Linked DNA regions of Homo sapiens: regions 1 and 3 are each linked to region 2. Evidence: promoter capture Hi-C in 16 types of primary human blood cells and fetal thymus (Javierre and others, 2016). All regions are on one chromosome and are shown on one strand. The core of a region is centred on a gene start or on the middle of the fragment in contact, and the rest is flanking DNA. Distances in the headings are between cores, read along the strand shown.

Region 1 (4,672 bases), core at 421-2,920, 290 kb before region 2:
TGAGGGTCATAAAGATTAAGTTATTAAGTTACTATGCAGTTAATAGTTTGTAGAATCAGGATTTGAACCTTTGCAGTCCGATCTCAGAGTCCATGCACATAAACACTACATCATAAAGCTTCTTCTTTCTGGTTCACTAGCAATTTGATTTGCCTAGAATAGATGATTTGTATTGGGGACAGGTAAGAAATAGGCTTGGCAAATGGTCAGGATGGTGCCAACTGTGGTGCAACTTTAGGATCAAGAAGAAGAATTTCAATTTGATGCTATAGGCAATAGGGAGTCATGGAAGGTTTTAGACCAGTGAAGACATAACCACAATGGTATTTTCTTAACTTTATTATTTAAATCTTCCATGTTCTTACTAATTTTGTGTTTTCTTGATCTATCAGTTACTGAAAGATGTGTTGAAACTTTCTACTTTGATTATAAATTCCCATTCTGTATTTGATGCTCTAATATTAAAAGCATAACATTTTGAATTGCTGAATCTTCCTGGTGGTGTTTTCCTTTTATCTTTTTATTATAACATAGCGAACATCTTTATTCCTGAAAATGCTTTCAATGACACTATAGCTATATTGTTCTTGGTTAGTGTGTACCTGGTACATCTTTTTTCATTTTTTTGTTTCCAACCTCTTTGCATCCTTTTGCTTTAGCTATATGTCTCTTTAAGCAATATATATCTGAATTTTGTTGTTGATTTGTTTTTTATATGAAAACTGCCAATATCTGACTTTTAATTAATACAGTTAGATTATATTTATTGTAATTACTGATGTATTGAATTTATTTCTATCTTATTTTGTGCTATCTGTCTACCTGGACTTTTCTATTTCTATTTTTTCCTCTGCTCCTACATTTTAATAGCTCGCTTGAGTTTTCTTTTACATTTTAACCTTAACTTCCTATGGTTTGGAAATTTCTATCCTTCTGGGGTGATCCTTTAAGTGTTGACAGCATAATTGACTTAAATCTAAAGTTAAACAACTTTACCCTTCTCCTATCAAATATATGAATTTTTGAATGGTTTAACTCTGACGACACTCTTTTTCATAAACACTACTATTTTCCTGAGTTTTAGTTCCATCTTGTTTTTAGGCACTACAGATTAATCATCTTCAAAACACTATTTTATATAGTGAAATTTGGACATATGGTTATATATTTCTTTGCTCATCACTCCTTACATTTCGGCCCTTCCTTTTTGGTTCATTTTCCTTCTTCCTGAAACACATCTTTTAGTAGTTTTGTTGGTGAGGGTCAATTAGTAGTAAACACTTGTAGTCTTTGTTCCTGTGGCTTTATTTCACCCTCACTGTTGAATGGTAAGTTGGCTGGATTTGAAATCCAGGCTGCCAGTTTTTCTTTTTTGTTTTTTGTTTTTTTTCAGTTCTTTGAGGATATTATCCCATTATCTTTTGTTTTATTTTGTTTTGTTTTCTTGCTGCTGCTAAAAAATCTGTCAGTTGAATTGTCATTCCATGTAGATTACTCCTATGTTAGATGCAGAGATGTGCCTCCCAGATCCCTCTTCCAGGAGGCACTTCCTGTCCAGATGGGGAGGACTGTGACCATCACACAGCCTCTACCTGTCAGCTCTTTTCAGATCTGTCTCAGCTGCAGAGAACTGCTTCCCCTGAACTCATGTTCTATGGAATACCTGCCTTCTGCAACTGAGCGTGGCAGGGATAGACAGACCTGGCCACCCGTTTCAGCCCAGTGCAGGACACTCTGAAAGGTTACTCTTTCCTCTGAGCTCCCTGCTGGGTTGGCTGAGGCCTTGTCAGGCCACATCACAGTGTGATTTCTCCCTCTGCTCAGTTCTCCTTCCACCCTTTTCCTCTCCTGGGAGTTGATCCCTAATAAACATTTTGCACCCAAAACTCTATCTCATTGTCTACTTACTTCTGTTTTCTCTGTGGCTTCATCCAAGGTCTTCGCAGTGTCTTCGGGTTCTGTGGTTTCACCAAAATAGTTCTAACTGTGGATTTCTTTGTATTTACCATACTCAGGATTTCTCTTTCCTGAACCAGAGGGTTTATGTCTTTCATTAACATTATTAGTCTTTCTCATTTTGAGTATTTGCCCTGCCATTTCTTTTTTCTTTTTCAGGAATATGAATAAATACATTAGGCCTTTGTTTTGCTTTGTTTCTGTGTGCTGTCTTCAGGGTACTCCCTCAGGTTGGTTTCCCAGTTCACTAATTTTCCCTTCATATTTATATTAACTGCTTTGTAAACTATCTATTGAGAGCCAGGTGCAGTGGCTCACACCTGTAATCCCAGTGCTTTGGGAGACTGAGATGGGAGGATAGCTTGAGGCCAGGAGTTTGAGACCAGCCTAGGCAGCATAGTGAGACATCATTTCTTAAAAAAAAAAAAATTAGGTCGGTGCAAAAGTAATTGCGGTTTTAATTTAATTTATAAAAATTAGCCAGGTGTGGTGGCATGTGCCTGTAGTCCTAGCTACTCAGGAGGCTGAGGCAAGAGGATTGCTTGAGCCCAGGAGTTCAAGTCTGCAGTGAGCTGTGATTCTCTAAGTTGGGCAACAGAGTTTGACCCTGCCTCTAAAATAAATAAATACATAAATAAATAATCAATTGAACTTTTAATGAGCACGCTAGACTTTTGATTTGTAAAAATTCTAATTGTTTTGTTTTCAAGTCTGTTCTTTTCACATAGTATCTTGGGCTTTTTTCATATTTAAAGTTTGTCTTTTAGGTCTTTACTTAGAACATGTATTATGGTCTCCATCTGTTAGCTCTATTATCTAAACACTCCGAAGGCCTAATACTGCTTTTGTTGTGTATGTTGATTGATTTTCCATGTGTTTGGTAATTTTGAGTTATGCACTTGTTTTTGGCAAGGCTTTATCTGTGGGAATCCTGTGTAATCTGGATTAAGGGCATGTCCTCTCAGAGAAGTTTTGAATTTGCTTCATTGTTAGCTGGAAACCTTTTTTAAAAATTAATAACTTGGTTTAGGGGCTCCTAGATCATTTGGGTTATGTAAATCTAAACCCCAAACCCACATAAGAAGGAGCCCATAGCAAAATTGAGTTAAAATATTTTCAAAATTAGTTTTTATGGGTTATGTGAGATATTTTGATACAGGCATGCAATGCGTAGTAATCACATCAGGGTAAATGGGGTATCCATCATTTCAAGCGCAGGTAAAATATTTTTTTCACACCCGATCCAGGTTATGCCATTCAAGCTTCTTTATTATAATTTACTTCCATTACTGGTTGGATTTTTACTTTTTTTAGTTTACCCTTTCATCTAGGCCTATTTGGGGATGTTGTTTCTAATTTCCCACCTCATGTGGCCCGAGGTCTTTTCCCATGAGCAGTTAAATCCAAATCGCTAGGTGTTGGAGATCAGCACCCATCCTTTCCACCCTCCCAGGGCTGCTGTAACATTCTCTCTAGTTTCTAGTTCTTTCTTTGCTTTTGGTCTCTGAAACTATCTTTTCCTTTCATGAAAGCTCAACTATGAATTCAAAATTATGTTTGTCCTATTTCTTGCAACATTTTTGACATTTGCCATTGCACTCCAGCCTGGGCAACAGAGCAAGACCCCATCTCTAAAATAATAATAATAATAATAATAATAATAATAATAATTTTTAAAACCCAAACAAAATAAAAAAAAAAAGAAGAGGAACTTTGAACGTGGACACTTAAGAAGGAAGATGATGTGAAGACATAGAGAAGACAAACAACCATCTATAAGTCAAGGAATGAGGCCTGGAGCAAATCCTTCCTTCATGGTCCTTATAAGGAACAAACCCTGCTGACAGTTTGATTTTGGACTTCTAGACTCTAGAATATGAGAAAGTTCCTTTCCTTCCTTCCTTCCTTCCTTCCTTCCTTCCTTCCTTCCTTCCTTCCTTCCTTCCTTCTTTCCTTCCTTCCTTCCTTTTTTTGAGACTGAGTCTTATTCTGTCACCCAGGCTGGAGTGCAATGGTGCAATTTTGGCTTACTGCAACCTTCGCCTCCTGAGTTCAAGTGATTCTCCTGCCTCAGCCTCCCGAATAACTGGGATTACAGGCGCGTGCCACCATGCGCAGCTAATTTTTGTATTTTTAGTAGAGATGGGGTTTCATCATGTTGGTCAGGCTGGCCTCGAACTCCTGACCTCAAGTCATCTGCCCGCCTCAGCCTCCTGAAGTGTGGGATTACAGGCGTGAGCCACCATGCCTGGCCTAATTTCTATTGTTTAAGCCACTCAGTTTGTGTTACTTTGTTAGGGCAGCCCTAGCAAACTACTACACTGACCAACATATTGGTCATTTTTCTCATTTGTAAACTGAAGAAAAATTGCAATATCTTCTTCATCCTATTGTGAGGATTAAATATGATAATGTATGCACCATGTCTGGCACATAGAAAGTATTTGTTACATGTTAGCTTTTATTACTAGTATTGAACTTGGTATTGAATGTGGTTGTTACATCCTTTAAATAGCAGATTGGTTTATCTGCTATTTTACTATTTTGTAGGTGTCTTCAGGCATTCACATTTCCTTCATTTTGAGTTATCAAAATCTCAGCTTAATAGAACTGGAGTTTTAAAATTTATGGTTCAAACTATTCTCTAAAAATATCTCATATGCAAATGATCCCAACCAGATTGTGATATTCGAAAATAGTCAAAAGACCATTAGCT
Region 2 (4,875 bases), core at 1,712-4,211:
CTCAAGTTCCCACTGTGACAAGTAACAAAACATAAATTTATTGCAATAAATAGAACATGAAAGAATATTTGTGGTGTTGCTTAATCAGCTGGGATTTATGGGGCAACTATTCTGTGCAAAGCACTGTACTAGCTCTGAAACTTGTTACGTAAGAATATTTGTGGTATTGCTTAATCAGCTGGGATTTATGGAGCAACTATTCTGTGCAAGACACTGGACTAGCACTGAAACTCTTGTTATATAAACTCTCTTAATATTAGGTTGGTGGCAAAGTAATTGCTGTTTTGGCCATGAAAAGTAATTGCAAAAATCGCAATTACTTTTGCATCAATCTCATAATTAATTGGTTTTTAATTGGCTGGTTAAGTTTTTAAGAGACAAGTGTGTATTTGTATTTTAAAGTAGTGAAATACAATGAGATCAAATCTGTAAAGTAACAGCAACAGCAATAGTACTTTTGTTCTTGTCAAGAGACTTTGGAAGCAAGGGAAACAGCCAGCTGCAATCTCTGCAATATGTCATCAGCAATTCTTCCCCAAACCCATCTAGATCCTGGTACTGTCTAATTTAGTTTTGGATCTTTAGCGGAAATTAATAGCTATAATAATTATAATAATTATGTTAGATTTATAGAACAGCTTTCCTTCCAAGAGCACAAGCCTCTTAGAGCTCTGCAGATGTTCCATAAATACGTGTCCCCTAATGGAATCACAATGAGGCCATTTCTAGATGGTCTCAATATTGCTATCAAGCTTTGTGGACTGGACTGACCTGCACACAATTGAAAAGGGGCTCTTCACACCGTGCCTTCTAGGAATAAGCTTCCCGCAGCATTGTGTCTAGGAAAGGAATTCTATAGCCAATGTGGTTTGGTGAATAAGAAGCCTTTTTTGTTATTTTTTAAAAATGAATGGATAGATATATAATGCTATCACGATGTTATTCACAATCAACAAGTGAATGCTGACTATGCAGTAAATACAGTATAAGGAATAGGGAAACATAACCTGAATTTCACCCTTTTTTTTCCTCATGGCTCTGAAGTTTAAGTCCCTAAAGGCCAGGGTTTTGCCTTGCTTTGTGACTTCCCTTAGAGTAAATACAGTGACAACCTATGTTAGAGGATTTTGTTTTTATTATCATCCAAACAATTTTAAGGCAAGACTGTCTGAACTAGGAACTGGGCTACTTCGGAAGATGCCATTTCTATTAATTTTCTATTAAGTATTTACTAGATTTTTTTTTCTTTGCTTTGTAGGGATCTGGAGCTACAAAGTGCCTGTGAAGTGCAAAATGTGTAAAATGGATGTAATACCAGGCTTTAAGGTGGAGGGGGACAGCAGTATGTCTCTTTCAGCATCACCATCTGGAATGGATTGGTGTTAATGAGTCACTTCATTCTTAAATTGATACAAAAGCATGGGCACCAACTCCCCTCTCTCCTGCTGTGAGCAACTCTCAGTCTCACTGGGAAGGACTGACTTGGAAAACCATTTTTCCATAAAACAGTCTGTGATTGATAAACAAGCATTCAGCGTAGCAACCCATTAAAACAAACAAACAAAAACAAGTTTCAGATGGGCTTGACACATGGAAGAGTGGAAGAGTGTTACCTGGTGGACTCCTGCTTGTAGATGTCAATGATATTTTCCACCAGCAGGTTCCTCTGAAGTCCATATACCCCATGTCTATCCAAAACCACTTCATGTCTACAGGATGGGCAGCGGAATCGGCCCCCTGATGCCATGGTGGTACCTCCTCTTGTGGGCAAATACGGGTTAGAGGCCTGTTCTTGCCAAGTAAGAAAAAAGGAATTGGGTAATGCCACAAGCAGCTTCTCTGAGACTTATTTTCACTCTCTGCTACTACAAACAACATGAACTTCTACTTTAAGCTTGCCATAAGATCATCCCTCAGGGCTTTCTCAGCAAGTGGTCCTGAAACACAGGGTCAGACCTTATCCACAGTCATCTGCGAATATACCATTGTCCACGTAAGGTGCTTTTCCGTCCACCACTTTCAGAACCAAAAGTTCCAGCCAGAAACTCCACACTCATGTCTTCAGCAGTTACTCATTTATAGTTTTGAAACACATTAAATGGTTTGACTTAAAAAAAAATATGATTCTTAGTATTAAAATAAAACTAGATTTGGGAGTAAAGAGGACACAAACCAAATCATTAAAAGAAACGTGTTTTTCTTGAAAGTAAATGCAACTTTATAAAGTTTTTTTGTTTGTTTGTTTTTCTTTTTTTGAGACAGAGTCTTGCTCTGTTGCCCAGGCCGGAGGGCAATGGCACGATCTCCGCTCGCTGCAATGTCCGCCTCCTGGGTTCAAGCAATTCTCCTGCCTCAGCCTCCCAAGTACCTGAGATTATAGGTGCCCGCCACCATGCCCAGCTAATTTTTTTTTTTTTGTATTTTTAGTGGAGATGGGGTTTTGCCATGTTGGCCAGCCTGGTCTCGAAGGCCTGACCTCAGGTGATCCACTGGCCTCAGCCTCCCAAAGTGCTGGGACTACAGGCGTGAGCCAAAGCGCCCGGCAACCTTATAAAGTTTTTTAAAGGATTTCACCTCAATGTTAAGCACTTGATTCCAAGAGGAGGGAATCTTTTCCACCCCCTCCCCTCAACCAAATTCCAAACAAACCTACCTGGAAAATATCACTGGCACATTTCCTACACAGGTTGTGCTGACAAGGGAGAATCACCACAGGTTTCGTGAACATCTCTAAGCAGATGGGACAGATGAGTTGCTTCTCTAAGTTATCCATGGTCTGCTGCTCTTTGGAAAAAGATTTGTAATTCAGAGATGCGCTCATCTCCTCGCTGTCCCCAAGTGTGCTGCCAGGGAAGGGTGCTGCGAGTGGCTCCAGCAAGTGTTTCCTGGATATTATTCCAGGGATTGTGTGATCAAGTGTCCTTTACGTTTCTCTCGGTGGAGGACATTGTTTCAGGCCCTGGTTTGGAGTGGGTGCTGGAGCTGTTTTTAGCAGCCTGCGGTCACGTGACGGTGGGCTGACGTGTCCATATAAGCCAGTGACAGGAGGATGGATCCTGACAGGTGACGGAGAGCAGGAGTCAACATTCTTGCCCCAGGGAGTGAAGAGAGTGGGTGGGAAGGAGGATTACAAACCCCATTTAGACGGGGTTGTGAGGAGAAGGAGGTCGAAGCTGACAGTTGTCAACAACAAATGCAAATGTGCATGCCTAGCCACTGAACCATGCCCTCTGTGAGCACTCACTGAGAACTTGGCGATGGCTTCTCCAGGAAGGGGCAGAACGCAGCACAGAGTCTGTGTAACTAATGCCAGCCCTGTCTTGAGAGTGTAGGAATTGAGTCACGGAAAGTAGCCTAATAGCACCTTCTTAGGTGAAAATGAACAAAACATGTCTCGAAAATTGTTATCCTGGCTTCACAAAGGCAATCATCAAAAAGACTTTCTTAATGTTAAGTATTTCATCTTTGTCAGCTGGGGTTGTGGTCTTTGAAAAATTCCAATTTAAAAGCTAAATTCAAATCCCTTCACCATAAAGGTATCCACCTAATAAATAAATAAATACATGCATAAATAAAAATTCAAAACCAGTGGATGATCTAATTATTTGAGAAAAAAGTTACATTATAAAACAACTCTAGTATGCTGTTTGCTCTTCCACATTGCTTTCCTCTTCCTTGGCCCTCTTTCATCCTATACTGCCCCACCTCCTACATACACCCAAAAACACAAAGAAAATTTGATAGTCTTTTACTGATTATTTAAATTCTTAAATTATATAATAGTTTGCAACAATAATCTGTAATGAGGTAGTAACTGGCAGGCACCTGGAGGTGGCAGATCTATTATTTTATTTTGTCATCCCTTGGGGGACAGTTACCAGTGCCATTGACAACTGAAGTATAAATGGAGTCCTACTTCCATATCTGCATTTCATCTGCCTCCAAAATACCTATTCTCCCTTGCATTTCCCCTTCCTCCAAGGTGACTTGTTAAACCATAGTTTCTCTGGTCATTTCTGATATTCTTGGTCTGCTCTTGAGTCATAAACATCGATTCTGACATTCATCAGGATTTTGTGAAGCAACAGTTTAACCAATACATATTGTATTTAAAAATGTTTAAATCAGATCAAAAATAAAAAAGAAATCCAAGTCTGTTTATATGTGATAAATTTCGGCTTTCTTTCTCCTTCATTTTAAAAACCTTGGGCAATAAACACATTTTGTTAACATATCCCTGGTGTGAATTAAATTACCAGTGAAGTGTAGGTCAGTTATGTGTGGTCTTAGTGCTGTGTGCACGGAGAGCTTATTGAGAATCTAGTAAGCTCTATTAACTAATAATAAGTTATATATATTCATAAGCATATCAGGGATCTTTAGAGAATTATCTTAGTCCTTTCAATATTTATTTAGCAACTACAGGGAGGACGGGAACTGGTAAAGTTTTTTTACTGAGTTACTTTGGTTCACCCAGCCTAGGCAGTTAATTGTGTTTATCAATTCATGGGCTATGGAGGGGAGGTCTGAGTACAATATGTGGGATATTTTCTAGGAAAGATTAAGTTTCTACTGCAAAAGACCTTGCTATCTAAGTAAAAGCACTTAGACTAATCATGCACATTGCAGCAGAGTCTTTTCTTTTAGAAGGAATTCATTCCTTCAAAATACATTCATTGGATATGTGTAGTGTGTCTCCATTGTGTGAGGCTCTGGGTATTGAAAGATGAACAAGACATAGGTCATTGGCCTCAAGGAGCTCAGTATAAGAGTGGAGATGAGACATGCACACACAGAACATAGTACAAAATAAAATGTGATAAAGAGTACAAGCCAAAAAGTACCTGAGACAGGTCTCAATCGAGAAAGTTTGTT
Region 3 (4,724 bases), core at 46-2,545, 270 kb before region 2:
CAAATAGCTGGGACTTAATTAAACTAAAGAGCTTTTGCACTGCAAAAGGAACAGTCTGCAGAGTAGACAGACAACCCACAGAGTGGGAGAAAGTCTTCACAATCTGTATATCTGACAAAGGACTAATATCCAGAATCTACAACAAACTCAAACAAATTAGCAAGAAAAAACAAACAATCCCATCAAAAAGTGGGCTTAAGGACATGAATAGACAATTCTCAAAGGAGGGCATACAAATGGCCAACAAACATATGAAAAAATGCTCAACATCACTAATGATCAGGGAAATGCAAATATTTGTATTTTAAACAAAAAGGAATAAATGCACAGTGAAAAGTAAGTCTTTTTCTACCCCAGGCCATCAAATCCCTAAACCTCTAGGCTTCTAGTGCCTCTTCCCAGAGCAACCTGTCTTACTAGTTTCTTGTATAAGGAATCATATAAAGCTGGTGAACCACATGAAAATGAATGCTTGCTTCTTATTATCCACAGTATGAACTTTGATTTGCAGGGATTAACAGGAAGAGCAAGCACAAATAGGACCATCTCTAGAAAACCCCTCCTTGATTATCCCAGGCAGATGTTCTCAGTGCCTCCCAAGCTTCTTCATGGCTTAAAAAAATTGTACTGAAATCCATAACATAAAATTTACTATTTTAATTGTTTTTAAAATGTACAGTTTAGTGGCATTACGTATGTTCTCATTGCATAGCCACCACCACCATCCATTTCCAGAACGTTTTCATCATCTGAAACAGAAATCCTTTACTCATGAAACAATAACTCCATATTCCCCCTCCCTCATAGCCCCTGGTAATGATTCTTCTACTTTATGTCTCTATAAATGTGACTATTCTAGGGATCTCATGTAAGTGGAATAATACAATATTTGTCCTTTTGGGCCTAGCTTAATTAACTTGGCATAATGTCCACAAGGTTCATCTATGTTGTAACGTGTCAGAATTTCCTTCTGGCTGAATTAAATTTATTGTTATGTATACACCACATTTTGTTGATCCATTCATCTATCAATGGATATTTGAATTGTTTCCAACTTTTGGCTATTGTGAATAAAGCTGCTATGAACACTGGTGTACAAGTATCTGTTAGAGTTTCCGCTTTAAATTCTTTTGTTTCCTTTGCGTCTTTTTATGGCATACTATTATTTATTGTAGTTGATGAGTGGATGCACACATGCTTTAAATTCCCTATTAAATTCTAACCCCTTGAGTGCAGGGCCCTTGATTGTTTTTTTCACTCCCACAGTCATACATTTGTCCATTCAACAATTCTTTATTGAGCATTGCTGAGTACGAGGCACTATGCTAGACTTCGGGGATACAGGGTGTAATGATGAACGTGAGCTGTATCCTCTAGCAGCATACGTCTAGTGAGGTACATTTTTATTTATAATTGTATCTGATACAATGTCTTGCACATTGTAAATATTCAACAAATGTTTGTTGACTTGTTGGTTGACTTATTGACTTCATGTATCTTCAGAGGTTCCTGAAAGTGTCATATCAATTATTGGATAGCAGTACAAATTTTTTGAACAAATGTAACAAATGTTAGAGTATGACTTTCTTGTTCCTTACTTTATTTATAGCAGATAGGATGGTGTCTATCATACAGTACGGGCTCAATAGTTTAAATAGTTTTAAAATGAAAGGTGATTACATAATTTGCCATAGAGAATTCTGATAAGGGCCAGACATTAATGCTCATATATTATGAATGGAAAAACTGAGGCATTTAAGAAAATCCAGAAAAGTAGTGACCAAGTCAGGAATAAACCTGGGTTTATTGGCCTGCAGCCTAATGCCTTCTGCCCTCCATCACACCAGTGCGTAAAATTAGAACTGATATCCCACCTTTCTGCGAAAGATGTGAACTTTAATTAGGTGTAATCACACACAGTATGGAGAAGGTTTAAGGCCTTTAAATTTCCTAAAAATGAAAATGAATCAGATTCTAAAATAAGCTTGTTAAATGCTATTCTTAAATAAAAAAGATAGTAGCATATGATGGTGAATTGCTTTTGCTGCTGTGAGAGGTGAAGTGTTGCTGTGCCACCTGCTTGGGAAGACCAAGCTGTGTCTAATCTTATACATCATTTTTCTGCTCATTCAGCTCAACCTCATTCCTGACTGTCCATGAATTATTGAGGCTTTTTGTATCTTTTGAGCAATCTGATTTAGAAATATTTAATCCTATGTTATATGAGCTAGAGTTTAAATCACTTTATTTTATTAAGAATTCTGACTAAATTTTTCATGAAGGAGAAGGTTGAGGTTTTAATTATTTATAAGTTTTTGGATTATTTGTGAATCTGAAGGCCAAGTTTTTCTTATAAATTTAAGATATTTCAGTTTCAAAAACTATCCTGTATTTGAGATACGTAAACTCATTTAATAAACCTAAGTACATTGGGAAAGTGAGACAGTGGGGAAAAAAAGAAAAAAGAAAAAACAAAACCTAAGTACAGCACAGATTGGAAACCCCAGGAGAGCATAGACTGAATTCACACTCAAGCTTAGCTGCTCAAATCCTGAAACTGTCATTGGTCCACTGAAGGTACAGGAGTCAGAGGACCTTAATTCATAAGGCAAAGGATTGTATATATAGATATAAGGAGTTTGACATTTTAAGAAGAGTGAATTGAGCAGAAATTCTCCAGAAGAACTTAAAGAGAACAGAGTGGACTCTTCCCCATTCTACCGGTTCTGGCCCCAAAGTTATAAAGGGCTTGGATACAAAGGTCAGACTTGTTATCTTGTTGATGCTCAGATTTTCTAAATAATGAAATGTGTTTTTGCCTTTATGACAACAGGAAATGCTCAGAAGCCTTCAGACTTGGCATAATTTGTCATAAGAATGTAGCTATTCCATTGATTTTGTTGTTGTCAAATTTGTGCATTCTCCATTGTACCTTTTTTTAGAGTCAGGAGGAGGAAGGTAACCTGGCCAAGTGGTGGCCCATGGTGTTACTTCTTTGTTACCAGCCTTATGTGATTTGGGTGAAATAGGTGTAAGTGCGCATTGTGGTGGGAAGGGTCAGAGCAATCAGCAGGGGTCATATGGTGAAATCAAAGACAGGAAAATGGGTTTTGGCCAAAAGTTGTATTGGTGACTGACTCAGAATGTGTTGACTCCCACTCTGTGTTCTGGAGAATGACTGGAGCTCTCCCTCCAGTGGGCCATACTTTCTCCCTATCCAACCATATGTAATGACAAAAAACCCTCCCTCTTAATAAGCTCTCCCTTGATCCTGCCAGGCAACTGTCAGTGCCTGTGAGAGTAAAGATCAGCAATTCTTGCTGTTTTGGTCACTTACATGTGTTCTTTGGCAGAGAGTTTGGTGTTTTGCAATACAGATGGAGAGAGGCAGTCAGAGGAGGAACTGAGGTTGGCGTCAGGAGAAAGATGCAGGCGGACAAATCTAAGGTCAAATATTCTCTCCCGCATCTAAGACAGTGAACAAAAAGCAGACACCTTTGGTAGTTCTGGCCTCTAATAATATAAACAACTTATTTGCCAAGGTACTATGCCAAATGCTTTATAAGTAGCACCTCATTAAATTCTTACAATATGGCCGGGCGTGGTGGCTCACGCCTGTAATCCCAGCATTTTAGGAGGCTGAGGCAGGCGGATCGCTTGAGCTCAGGAGTTCAAGACCAGCTTGGTCAACATGGCGAGACCTTGATTCTACAAAAAATCCAAAATTAGCCTGGCGTGGTGTTGCCTGCCTGTAGTCCCAGCTACTTGGGAGGCTGAGGTGGGAGGATCACTTGAGCCCAGGAGGTTGAGGCTGCACTCCAGCCTGGGTGGCAGAGTAAGATCCTGTAGCCCCCCAAACAAAAAAAAAATTTAAAAAAATTCTTACAATACCCCATGAAGTAGGCATTATTCTTTATCTCCATGTTACAGATAAGAAAACCAAGATCTATGCTGTCTCAAATTCACAGAAAAAGAAAGTAAAAATATTTTTTAAAAAAAGAAAACCAAGATCAACAAAGAGTAAGTAACTTTTCTAAGAATATGGAGCAAGAAAGGGGAGAAACCCAGGCTGCAGGCCCTGAACACTCCAGGCTGGTCCACTGTGATGGGCCCTGGTTCAGCAGGCTCCATACTGCCCTCAGGAGCAGCACTAAATAAATCGCTCCCTTTTTCAAATACATGAAGCCAGCCATCACATCAGATGATGCCCTGCCTGAGGGCTCCCCTTGGCCTAACTCCTATTAGTAATACCCATCTTAAATACTCCTCTTTTCCAGTAATGGCACCTTCTCTCACAATGAGCTTCAGTATTCATCAGAATGCTGCTTCTATCCTCCTGTACAATCTTCCGGTTAACAATGCTAGTCTAGACTATCCTTCTAGGAGAAGGGAGGGGAAGGAGGCAGGCGGAGGCTGTGGAGTCCCATGAAAGCTCCTGGAACACATGTACCACATGAGGAAGATGCTGCCATCTGGACAACCTCATTAGCTTTCCAGCTGCCTCTGTGTGTATCTTTCTATGGACAGCAACTATGCAAATGTGATCTTTGTTTTAATGAGTGCGTCAGGTGTATTTTGCTGTAACATTATCTATGATTCATTGTGGTATTAAAGTAATAACTTGGGCCAGACAGCTCATGCCTGTAATCCCAGCACTTTGGAAGAGAGAGGCAGGTGGATCACTTGAGGTCAGGAGTTTGAGACCAGCCTGGCCAACGTGGTGA

What was found. Contacts are between HindIII fragments. The CHiCAGO score rates a contact against its expected background, and 5 or more counts as called.
Region 1: a contact is called between a fragment that was not itself captured here and the fragment with the promoter of TRIM55 in region 2, in 4 of 17 cell types (endothelial precursors, naive B cells, total B cells and 1 more). The highest score is 8.5, in endothelial precursors.
Region 3: a fragment that was not itself captured here is called in contact with the fragment with the promoter of TRIM55 in region 2 in 1 of 17 cell types (endothelial precursors); the score reaches 5.6 in endothelial precursors.

Annotation. Positions count from the first base shown.
Region 1 is chr8:66,415,397-66,420,068 of GRCh38, reverse strand. RRS1-DT (RRS1 divergent transcript) reads left to right here. Exons shown (of 3, transcript NR_040434.1): 3 at 1-482. All of the region lies in intron 1 of LOC102724687 (a long non-coding RNA gene), which reads left to right. Among named protein-coding and RNA genes, the nearest start is that of RRS1-DT, 11 kb to the left of the region's middle. The HindIII fragment of the contact is 3,100 bases long and covers 121-3,220 here.
Region 2 is chr8:66,125,215-66,130,089 of GRCh38, reverse strand. It overlaps TRIM55 (tripartite motif containing 55), which reads right to left and starts at 2,961. Exons shown (of 10, transcript NM_184085.2): 1 at 2,654-2,961; 2 at 1,614-1,786. The coding sequence starts at 2,821. RefSeq lists a silencer at 3,143-3,415. The HindIII fragment of the contact is 5,122 bases long and covers 1,897-4,875 here.
Region 3 is chr8:66,392,010-66,396,733 of GRCh38, reverse strand. The region is part of intron 1 of LOC102724687 (a long non-coding RNA gene); the gene reads left to right. Among named protein-coding and RNA genes, the nearest start is that of RRS1-DT, 35 kb to the left of the region's middle. The HindIII fragment of the contact is 1,383 bases long and covers 604-1,986 here.